Regions from separate parts of the Homo sapiens genome. Here all the other regions are linked to region 3. Evidence: promoter capture Hi-C in 16 types of primary human blood cells and fetal thymus (Javierre and others, 2016). All regions are on one chromosome and are shown on one strand. Each heading gives the region's core, a stretch centred on a gene start or on the middle of the fragment in contact. The rest is flanking DNA. Distances are from core to core; before and after follow the strand shown.

What was found. The method cuts DNA at HindIII sites, captures the fragments that hold promoters and counts their contacts. A CHiCAGO score of 5 or more calls a contact.
Region 1: a contact is called between a fragment that was not itself captured here and the fragment with the promoter of ATXN1L in region 3, in 11 of 17 cell types (naive CD4 T cells, fetal thymus, activated CD4 T cells and 8 more). The highest score is 16.1, in naive CD4 T cells.
Region 2: a fragment that was not itself captured here is called in contact with the fragment with the promoter of ATXN1L in region 3 in 3 of 17 cell types (activated CD4 T cells, total CD4 T cells and naive CD4 T cells); the score reaches 6.2 in activated CD4 T cells.

What each region holds. Positions count from the first base shown.
Region 1 is chr16:71,805,659-71,809,074 of GRCh38, reverse strand. AP1G1 (adaptor related protein complex 1 subunit gamma 1) reads left to right here and starts at 241. Exons shown (of 23, transcript NM_001128.6): 1 at 241-312. It overlaps LOC124903714 (a long non-coding RNA gene), which reads right to left and starts at 117. Exons shown (of 2, transcript XR_007065110.1): 1 at 1-117. RefSeq lists enhancers at 1-519, 463-1,110. The HindIII fragment of the contact is 1,723 bases long and covers 389-2,111 here.
Region 2 is chr16:71,780,757-71,783,865 of GRCh38, reverse strand. The region is part of intron 2 of AP1G1 (adaptor related protein complex 1 subunit gamma 1); the gene reads left to right. Among named protein-coding and RNA genes, the nearest start is that of SNORD71, 24 kb to the right of the region's middle. The HindIII fragment of the contact is 1,720 bases long and covers 953-2,672 here.
Region 3 is chr16:71,844,569-71,847,607 of GRCh38, reverse strand. It overlaps ATXN1L (ataxin 1 like), which reads right to left and starts at 1,632. Exons shown (of 3, transcript NM_001137675.4): 1 at 1,504-1,632. RefSeq lists enhancers at 1,145-1,214, 1,016-1,787, 2,005-2,054, 1,788-2,560 and a silencer at 1,435-1,744. The HindIII fragment of the contact is 5,556 bases long and covers 1,090-3,039 here.

The DNA.
Region 1 (3,416 bases), core at 1-2,500, 38 kb after region 3:
CGCTCTGCCAGGAGCAGTCGCCTCCTCCTTGGCAAATAGTCCTCGGCAGGGTCCGAGTTCTTGGATAATTCGAGAGAAAAGGCACGATAAGTTGCAGTACGAGGACACGGAAACGACCAGGAGAGGAGGACAGGGAGCGAAGTTTCCTCAATAGTGTGTGAAGTTAGTTAAAAACTCCCTCCTTCCTCAGGATCCCTCCGCCTGCGGTAGCGGTGGTGAGGCCGAGGGAGCCGCCATTTTGGATGTTCGGTTCCTGCTGCCACTGCTGCCGCCGCCCCCGGAGCTGCTGGTTTCATTCGAGGTTTCGGGCCGGTGAGTGTCACTCCCGGCGCTGAGAGCATATTGCTGCTTTTGCCCCGCCGCTGCCGCGGGCGCTCGACCGGAAGCTTCCTTTCAGTTTCAGGGGTCCAGTCCCAGGCTGTGGGTGTTGAGAAGAGAAGACAGAGAAGCTGGGCCAGGAGAGGCCGGGAGCCCCAGGGGCTGCTCCGACTTCTGGAGGGCCGACCCCGAGGCCTCGGACCGGGAGGTTCCGCGCGCCGCGGCGTTCCGTGTTGTGGCGTTGCCCCGCCGGTACGGGCCTCCTTGAACCCTTGACTTTCTCAGGCTGCGATCTTTGAGGGCTCATTCAGGGAGCCTGGGGTTTAGCGGGGCGGGCCCCACCCCCGCGTGTCTTCTCTGAGCCACGTATCAGCGTTCTTGTGTCTTGTACCCGTGTCAGGTCTGTCAGATAACTCCCAGCATATCCAAATGCCCAGTTAATCGCTGCCTGCCCCTGCAGTGCCGTCCTCTCGGAACCGGACATCGGCCTCGCCTCTCTCTAACCTTCCGACCAACTTCTTTCCCAATTTTTCGTGTGTGTGTGTATATGTTGTTGTTTTGTTTTTTTCAACCTACCTGCGAGTATACTGTTTACCCTTTTCTCAGCTCCTGGCCCTGCGGACGTCAGCGTCTAATAATTCTCCCGGTCTTCCTGATTGCCTGAAAGAGTCGGGACGGTTCGGTTGATTGTGTTTCCCGGTTAGGACTCGGTGTAGGAGATCCATCGAACCACTCGCTCAGGGTAATGTTTATGAAGCAGATTATGTTTATGAAGCAGATTAAATGGCTTTTGGGAGGCAAGAGCTGTCAAATGTTTTCTCATATGTGGATTCCCTCCCTGTGCTGAATACTTAGCTTTTTGGTGCTTACTGACACTTGTGTGGTATTTTTTTTTCTCCCCTATTATATATCCCTGAGCACGGAAATCTGTCCATGGAGAAAAATATTAATCTGAGGTAGGTAGAAAGGAGAGTTGGGCTGCTTTACAGTGATTAGTTAACAGAAGGGAGGAGTTAGTGCTTTCTTAGTGACCTTAACTTTGAAGTGTTTGTACAGTAATGATCTTTGCTGACTGATTCTAAAAAATACTTGTAATGATTTCATGTATTGGGTTTTTCTGGGGATAGCTGAATTTTAAATATTCACTTCCACCGTTCCCTAGAATACTTGTCAAATACCTAACTTGTCACACACCCTAACTTTCACGTTTGAAAAATATGAACCCTCTAAGTACTCGTAATCTCGTCACTTTTATTCTAAAGGCATGTTTGCAGTCTAGCATGCTTGAATAAAAAGTATGTCTTTATTTTTATTTATTTATTTTTTGAGACGAAGTCTCCCTCTGTCTCCAGGCTGGAGTGCAGTGGCACGGTCTCGGCTCACTGCAACCTACGCCTCCCGGGTTCAAGCAGTTCTCCTGCCTCAGCCTCCCAAGTAGCTGGGACTACAGGCACACGCCGCCACGCCCGGCTAATTTTTTGTTGTTGTATTTTAGTAGAGATGGGGTTTCATCATGTTGCCCAGGCAGATCTCGAACTCCTGAGCTCAGGTAATCCGCCCGCCTCGGCCTCCCAAAGTGCTAGGATTACAGGCGTGAGCCACCGTGCCTGGCAAAAAGTATTTCACAGTTATTCACTGATACATTTCCTACGTTTCAAGTTAGGCGAGTGTGATTGAATCACCCTTATTTCATCTCAGCCTGGGTTTTCACATCTGCAAAAGAGAAATTAACTTATTTGAGATCACAGTCTAGTGGTTGAAGTTTAAATTTATAACTTGAATTGAGTCAAGCTTTTTAATATTGCTAAGCCACTTATAGATGCATTATTATTATCAGGTTATTGAAATGAGATTGTAGATAAATTCCTCTATAGGTCATATGATGTCTCAGAAGAAAACAATATTTTCAGTTTAAATACTCAGTGATCTTGTTATTTAAGCAGATTTTTCAAAAATATATTAGTTACTATTAGATACGTGAGTTCTGTATTACCCTGAAGCAATGGAATTTTCTCTTTTGGTTTAAAGGAACTGTCAAACACTGAACACCTATGTAATGCTCACTCATTTAGTAAGTATGCCCTCGCAGTTACTACTGAAATGTTCCATTTCTGACTTAGACTTTTCAAGTAAGGTGTTAGAAGAGCTATCACATAGATGTTAGTTAACTCAGTGTTTTTCATGCTTTAATATATTGGTATTTAAATGTCATTCAGGCGGGCGCTCAGTGGCTCATGCTTGTAATCCCAACACTTTGGGAGGTGGAAGGTGGATCCCTTGAGCCCAGGAGTTGGAGGCCAGCCTGGGCAACCTAATGAGACTCCGTCTCTACCAAAATATTTAAAAATATTAAACTTTTAAAAATTCATTCTTAGATAGTTTGCATTCACTGTAGAAAGGGTCCTTTTGCCTTAACAAATTCCTAGCAAAGTGTTGTTTAGTGCACCATTGATCAGTGCATATTTGAATGTCTGCTTTGCGTTTAGGAAACCTCCGTTTTCTTTTGGGGGCAGTTGCTTGTTCTTTGGTCTGACCTCTGTCATTGATAGCAGTTCTAGATTTGAGGGCAGATTTTAGAGTGAAACTTTAAAGTACAGAATTTGCCAGGAATGCCTTGGTGATATTTCACCCCAGTGTTTATTTAAAAAAGGAGTTTTAAAAATCAGTGGTATGCAAACAAAACCAACTTCTTTATGATTTATAAAAACTCTTTTTTTTTTTTTTTATTATTTTTATTGTTTGAGACAGGGTCTCACTCTGTTGCCCAGGCTGGAGTGCAGTGGTCTCAGCTCACTGCAGCCTGGACCTCCTGGACTCAAGCGATCCTCCTGCCTCAGCCCTCCACGTAGCTGGGACTACAGGCGTGTGCTACCACGCAGGGCTAATTTTTGTATTTTTTGTATAGATAGTGTTTTGTCATGTTGCCCAGGCTGGGCTCAAGCAATCCTCTTGCCTCGGCCTCGCAAAGTGCTGAGATTACAGGTGTGAGCCACCTCACCTGGCCAAAACTTTTAATTTATACAAATTTAAAAAGTTGAATGAGTATTTTCCAAGATATTATTTTTAATTAAAAAAATTGAATTGGCAATCTACATACC
Region 2 (3,109 bases), core at 563-3,062, 64 kb after region 3:
TGTGTGGTATTTAAAATTGTTTCTGCCAGTACATAAAAAAGAAAAAAGAATTTCCATAGAAATCTGGACTTCTAGTTTCTCTTAGAAACATAGTAAGATTTGTGGAATGGAAATCTACATTTCCATATGTCAGTAGTGTGCTGCTTTTAGGCTGGGCCTGATTCTGTTTTTCCTCAGTTCTAGCCTTGCTTGCCATACCCAATTACCTGTGTAGGATATTCTTCCCTTCCATCTGTGTAGCATAGGACTGCACTTCTTTAGCTTCTCTAAATTTTACAATGTTTTCTGTACAGTCTTATACATCTTTTTAAAAAATTAAAAAAAAATTTCCTTTAAAACACAGGATTTTTAAGTCTTAACACATCTTTGGAGAAATATATTTGTAGGTTCTTTAGAGCTCTTGTTTCTGTTGCAAATAGTATCCTTTAAAATTTTAAATAATTATGTTGTAGATCTGTAGTGATATAATTGATTTTTAATAATATTTATCTACTTTGCCACATTATTGAACTTGGTTCTAAGAGTCTCTGTGGACGTCATTGTTTCCATGTAGTCAATACTACTATTGTCTGCAAACAATGGCAGTTCTTTTTTTTCCTTTGATATCCTTATACATTTTCTTATTTTCTTATTACACTGTACAGGTAGTACATTATTGCAAATAAGTGATGATAATAGCCACTCTTGTTAAAGCCGTAAACAAATGCTCTACAGTAATATGTGGGTGACTGTCATAGGGTTTAGTAGACACGCTTTCTCACATTAAGGAATTTTTTTCTTAAAATAAAGTACTTAAGCTAGTACTATTCCTTGAAAAGCCTTAGAATTAATGACCAGACCAGAAGCAATGAGCTATCCTTAAGCCTAGACTGTGGTCTCCAGATACTATTTTCAGCCCATTGGAAAGATGGCTGATCCCAAATCCAGGGTAAGGAAATGTACAAAATAAGCTTGAATGATGTTACTATGCCAGAAAGCAAGAAAGACTGCAAAGATCATGTCAGAAGGTTTCAGTAATCACCAGAAGAGGCAGTCATACCCCCAAAAGAGATAATTTGAGTATTAATAAGAATAATAATCGGCTGGGCATGGTGGCTCACACCTGTAATCCCAGCACTTTGGGAGGCCGAGGCAGGCAGATCACGAGGTCAGGAGTTCAATACCATCCTGGCCAACATGATGAAACCCTGTCTCTACTAAAAATACAAAAATTAACCAGGTGTGGTGTCAGGCGCCTATTAATCCCAGCTACTCAGGAGACTGAGGCAGGAGAATCGCTTGAACCCGGGAGGTGGAGGTTGCAGTGAGCCAAGACTGCGCCACTGCACTCCACCCTGGGCAACAGAGCGAGACTCCATCTCAAAATAATAATAAAAATAATAATAATAATAATAATAATTGTAGGCTGGGTGCGGTGACTAAACTTGTAATCTCAGTCTTTTGTGAGGCTGAGGCGGGCAGATTGCTTGAGCTCAGGAGTTCGAGACCAGCCTGACAAACATAGTGAAACCCCATCTCTACTAAAAATACAAAAATTAGCCGGGCATGGTGGCAGATACCTGTAATCCCAGGTATTCCGGAGGCTGAGGCTTGAGAATCACTTGAACCTGGGAGGCGGAGGTTGCAGTGAGGCGAGATCGTGCCACTGCACTCCATCCTGGTTGGCAGAGTGAGACTCTGTGTCAATAAAAAAAGGATAATAATTGCAATTGATTGAAATAAACGTTTATATTGCCTTTCCTTAGCAATAGTATGGCCTTCCTTCTGTATAGAGAAGTTTCTTCTTAGAGCTGTAGTCCAACTAATAAATGAAGGAATGAATTAGAATCTAATCATTTTGCAACCCATGATGATCGTCAGTTGCTGCTAATGTCACAAAAGAGAGACGACTACCAGAAATAATTATACGCCTCCTGGTGAAAGTTCATACCACTGGCTCTAAGTGGTGCATATTTGCAAAATGAGATCACAACAGAACAAAGCAAAACCTGAAAAGTCTGAATTTGATCAAGCCTCCTTAGGTATATAACCTAGATAAATTTTCCAGTATACAAAGACATGTATGTATAAGAGTATTCATTTCAGCAGTGTTTCTAATAGGTAAAACATTGCAAACAATCTGTTTGTCCTCAGATAATAGGTAAGTTTATATTCAAAAGTGGGATACTATGTAGCAGTGAGTTATGACTGAATTAGATCTTCTTGTCTTGATGTGAGTAATACTCAAAGCTGTTGAGTGAAAAGAGCGGGAATACAGTTTGATATTTGTTTAAAGTTTAAAACATTTAAAACCACCTGTCTCTCCATGTGTAGTAAGAATATATGGCATGGCAGTCATGAGCAGCAGTTTAGGGTTCTGATTACTTCTGGGATGGAGAAATGAGATTGAGGCCCAGTACACAGAAGACTTCATTTGAATTTGTAATGTAAAATAAATAGGGTGAAATGTTAAGATTTGATAAAGCTGCTTGGTGTGTCAGTGACAGTTACGTGATTTTTATGTATTTTGAGTGGAATATTTCATAATTTTCTCAAAAGAAAAAATTGGATTCACTAGGAATGTCAGGTTTTTGTTTTTTGTTTTTCTGCCAGAAGAATGAAGAAACAGACTCTGGTCTATATAGATTTTATGTTGTCAGGCCTACATAGTGGTAGTGCAGTTGTAACAAGCTTGCTTTTCAAAAATGATGATTTTAGGTGTGTGTGTGTATAAACCAGGCAGTTATTTCTGAATATTAAAAAGAAATAGGTTGGGTATGGTGCCCCATGCCTATAATCCCAGCACTTTGGGAGGCCAAGGCAGAAGGATCGTTTGAGGACAGGAATTCAAGACCAGCCCAGGTAACATAGTGAGACCTCATCTCTACAAAAGTAAAAAGTTAGGGTAGGGTACAGTGGCTCATGCATGTAATTCCAGCACTTTAGGAAGCTGAGGCAGGCGGATGGCCTGAGCTCAGGAGTTTGACACTAGCCAGGGCAATACGGTGAAACCCCGCTCCAGCCTGGGCGACAGAGTGAGACTCCAGCTCAAAAAAAAAAAAAAAAGTAAAAAATTAGCCTCATGTGGTGGCATATGCCTGTAGTTGTAGCTACTTGGGAGGCTGAGGCA
Region 3 (3,039 bases), core at 383-2,882:
ATTTCCCCTTTATTCTGGGCCTATGAAAACATAAATGTGGAGTTATTTAAATGAAAAAAAGCAGCAGTAGATGAAAAAGAACAATTATTTATGTTTCTGGGGCAGAAAAAGAGGTCAGGGGGGAGTCACTCAAGGAGAAGACTTATTAAGAGATTTTCAGGGTTAAAAAAAAATGAGCATATGTGTGTGTGTATGTAAAATTTTCTGAGTGACAGTATACCAAGTGCTGAATCAGGTATGAAAGAAACTGAAAATATTGCCTTGGTCCTCAGCTGGCTAACACTGGTGAAACAAAACTACCACTAAACCATCACTATGTGAATCTACACTTGCCAGAAACGCAAAGCGAGAAAGAATGGAGCCTTAACCTCTGAAAACAGAGAAGGCAGTACAGATGAGTGAGTGCTCTGAGAAACTGACTATCCTGTCCAAGTCCTATAGAACACTCTAAGCCTCAACCCAAACCGAATGCAACATTTCTCTCTTAAGATTGGCAAGGTGCAGGTGTACACAAAAGGTGGAAGGATAGGAAAACACAGTGGGAAAACAAATTCCTAATTCCACAAACACATATTATTACACAGTGGCATAAATAATGACTCTTTTCTCCACCAGCAGCTTTAATAACTGAAAAGCAGCTTGCTTTCTTCTTCATTCCCAACAGAAACTGGGGTCACACTTCAATCCCAAAATGATCCTTGCTTTCTGTAACGAAAACTTTAAAGAAAACCTGCCTCCAGGTCACCGAGAAGTTAGCAAACACAGGCTAGTAAAGGGACCGAAAGAGGCAAAAGGTCTGCAGAAAGGAAAACAAAGAGCCAAGCCTGTGCGCCAGGTTCCCACAACGCAAAACACACTTAAGAATCCGAAACCTCCGCCTCTCGAGAACCTCACTGAGCATCTCAAAGGGAAAACGCAGCTTGTGACCCCAACCGAGCTAACAGGCTGTTCAGGAGAGTTGCCAACGCTGCTAGCAGAGCCCGGAACCAAGCTCCTCATCACGCTTGGGTCGGAATCAAGGGGCTGAACCCAGCTGGAGACCCAAATTCTCTGCGGGCGAGAGGTGCGCCCGACAGAAAGGGAGAAGCTTGTCAGAGACTACGGTTATGGCTCCCAGTGGTCCCGCAATCCTTGATCCAACAAGGGTAGGGCTCGAAATTGGGAATTCTGCGTTTAGAGAGTAGGGGGTCCACCCTTCACCAAGGGGGCAGGGGCGAGGCCCTGCAGGCGACGCTTCCTTGTTTGGGGGCCCTTCCCGCCCCACAGACTCGGACACCTTGGCTCGCAGGCACACAGCCTCCGGGGCGCCGGGGCCTGAGGCCACCTTCCAGGACAGGCCAGAGAGAAGCGCGAGGGGGTCTAGGTGCGGCCTCTCCCCTCCGTCTGTCCACGGTTCATGGGCCCCGGCCCGCCGGAGCAACGGGCTCCTGAGGGCCACTTCCTCCGGAGCACCGACCCCAGGCCTGCCTGGCCCCGGCGGCCACCACTTCCAGGGACACTCACCAGCCCATTTCACAGCGCTTCCCAGGATCCACTCACTCGTCCCGGAGCCGCCGCAACCGCGGCCGCCGCCATCCCCGGCCCCGGAGCCGCCCCACACCCAGCGCCCCCCACAGCCGGGCGCCCGGAGATGGCGTCAAGCTCGTCCCGCCCCCGGCGCGGAGAGATTGCGTCACGGCCGGGGTGGGAGAGCAACGCCCAGGACTCCCCGGGAAGGGAGGGTGCCACACTGCCTTCGCGTCGGGCGTTCCCTCTGGTGGGTGAACAAACTCCTCTCCCTGGGACCGGGTCACGTGAATAGGGCTGGGCCCGGCCCCCTCAGCCTGACCCCACAATGACCCCGCAATCTTTCCACCTCAGTAAATTTTGGGGGTTCCCAAACAGAGCCCCGGGGCGTGGTCATCGGCGACCCCCCATTTCCTGGACTTCTTGTCCTGACTTGTGCAGCCCCTTCTGGGGAACTTCGGGGGACCCCGAGGTGACCTAGGCTCAGGAGAAAAGGAGATACCTCTTACCTCTTGGGGACCCAGGTGGAGATAGGAAGTCTTCTTTTTTTCTTTTCTTTCTTTTTTTTGGAGACAGTTTCGCTCTTGTTGCCCAGGCTAGAGTGCAATGGCACGATCTCGGCTCACCCAACCTCCGCCTGCCAGGTTCAAGCAATTCTCCTATCTCAGCCTCCCGAGTAGCTGGGATTACAGGCATGCGCCACCACACCTGGCTAATTTTTTGTATTTTTAGTAGAGACAGGGTTTCTCCTTGCTGGTCAGGCTGGTCTCGAACTCCCGACCTCAGGTGATCCCCACACCTCGGCCTGCCAAAGTGCTGGGATTACAGGCGTGAGCCACCGTGCCAGGTCAATAGGAGCTCTGTAAGTGTTGAGAAGTGGCCCCCGAGGGAGCTAAGAGTGAACCCCACTCAGGATCTAGGGGAAGGTGACAAGGAGTGGAACACCTGAAAGTTTAGAGAGAGCCCGGGGTTTAGTACAGTGAGAAGCAGCTTGGTTTAGTGGAAAGAGGGCTTGACTACTCAGTGAAATATTATTCATTACAAATTAACTAATTATTCATTACAAATTAACTGGTCAACTTCATAGTAACATGAACATCTGATTAACTTAAGTGAAGACAAAAGTGAGCGCCAGTTGAATTTATGTTTGAATAACAACTGTGTTTTTGTTGTTGTTTGTTTTAAAGTATTAGGTTGGTGCAAAAGTAATTGCGGTTTTGGCCACCGAAATGGAGACTTTCAGTTTCTTCAAACTCTGTTCAATAAATAACAATTGGGCCAGGCGCGGTGGCTCACGCCTGCAATCCCAGCACTTTGGGAGGCCAAGGCCGGCGGATCACGAGGTCAGGAGATCGCAGACCATCCTGGCTAACACGGCGAAACCCCGTCTCTACTAAAAATACAGAAAATTAGCCGGGCATGGTGGCGGGCACCTGTACTCCCAGCTACTCGGGAGGCTGAAGCAGGAGAATGGCATGAACCCGGGAGGCAGAGCTTGCAGTGAGCCGAGATCGTGCCACTGCACTCCAGCCT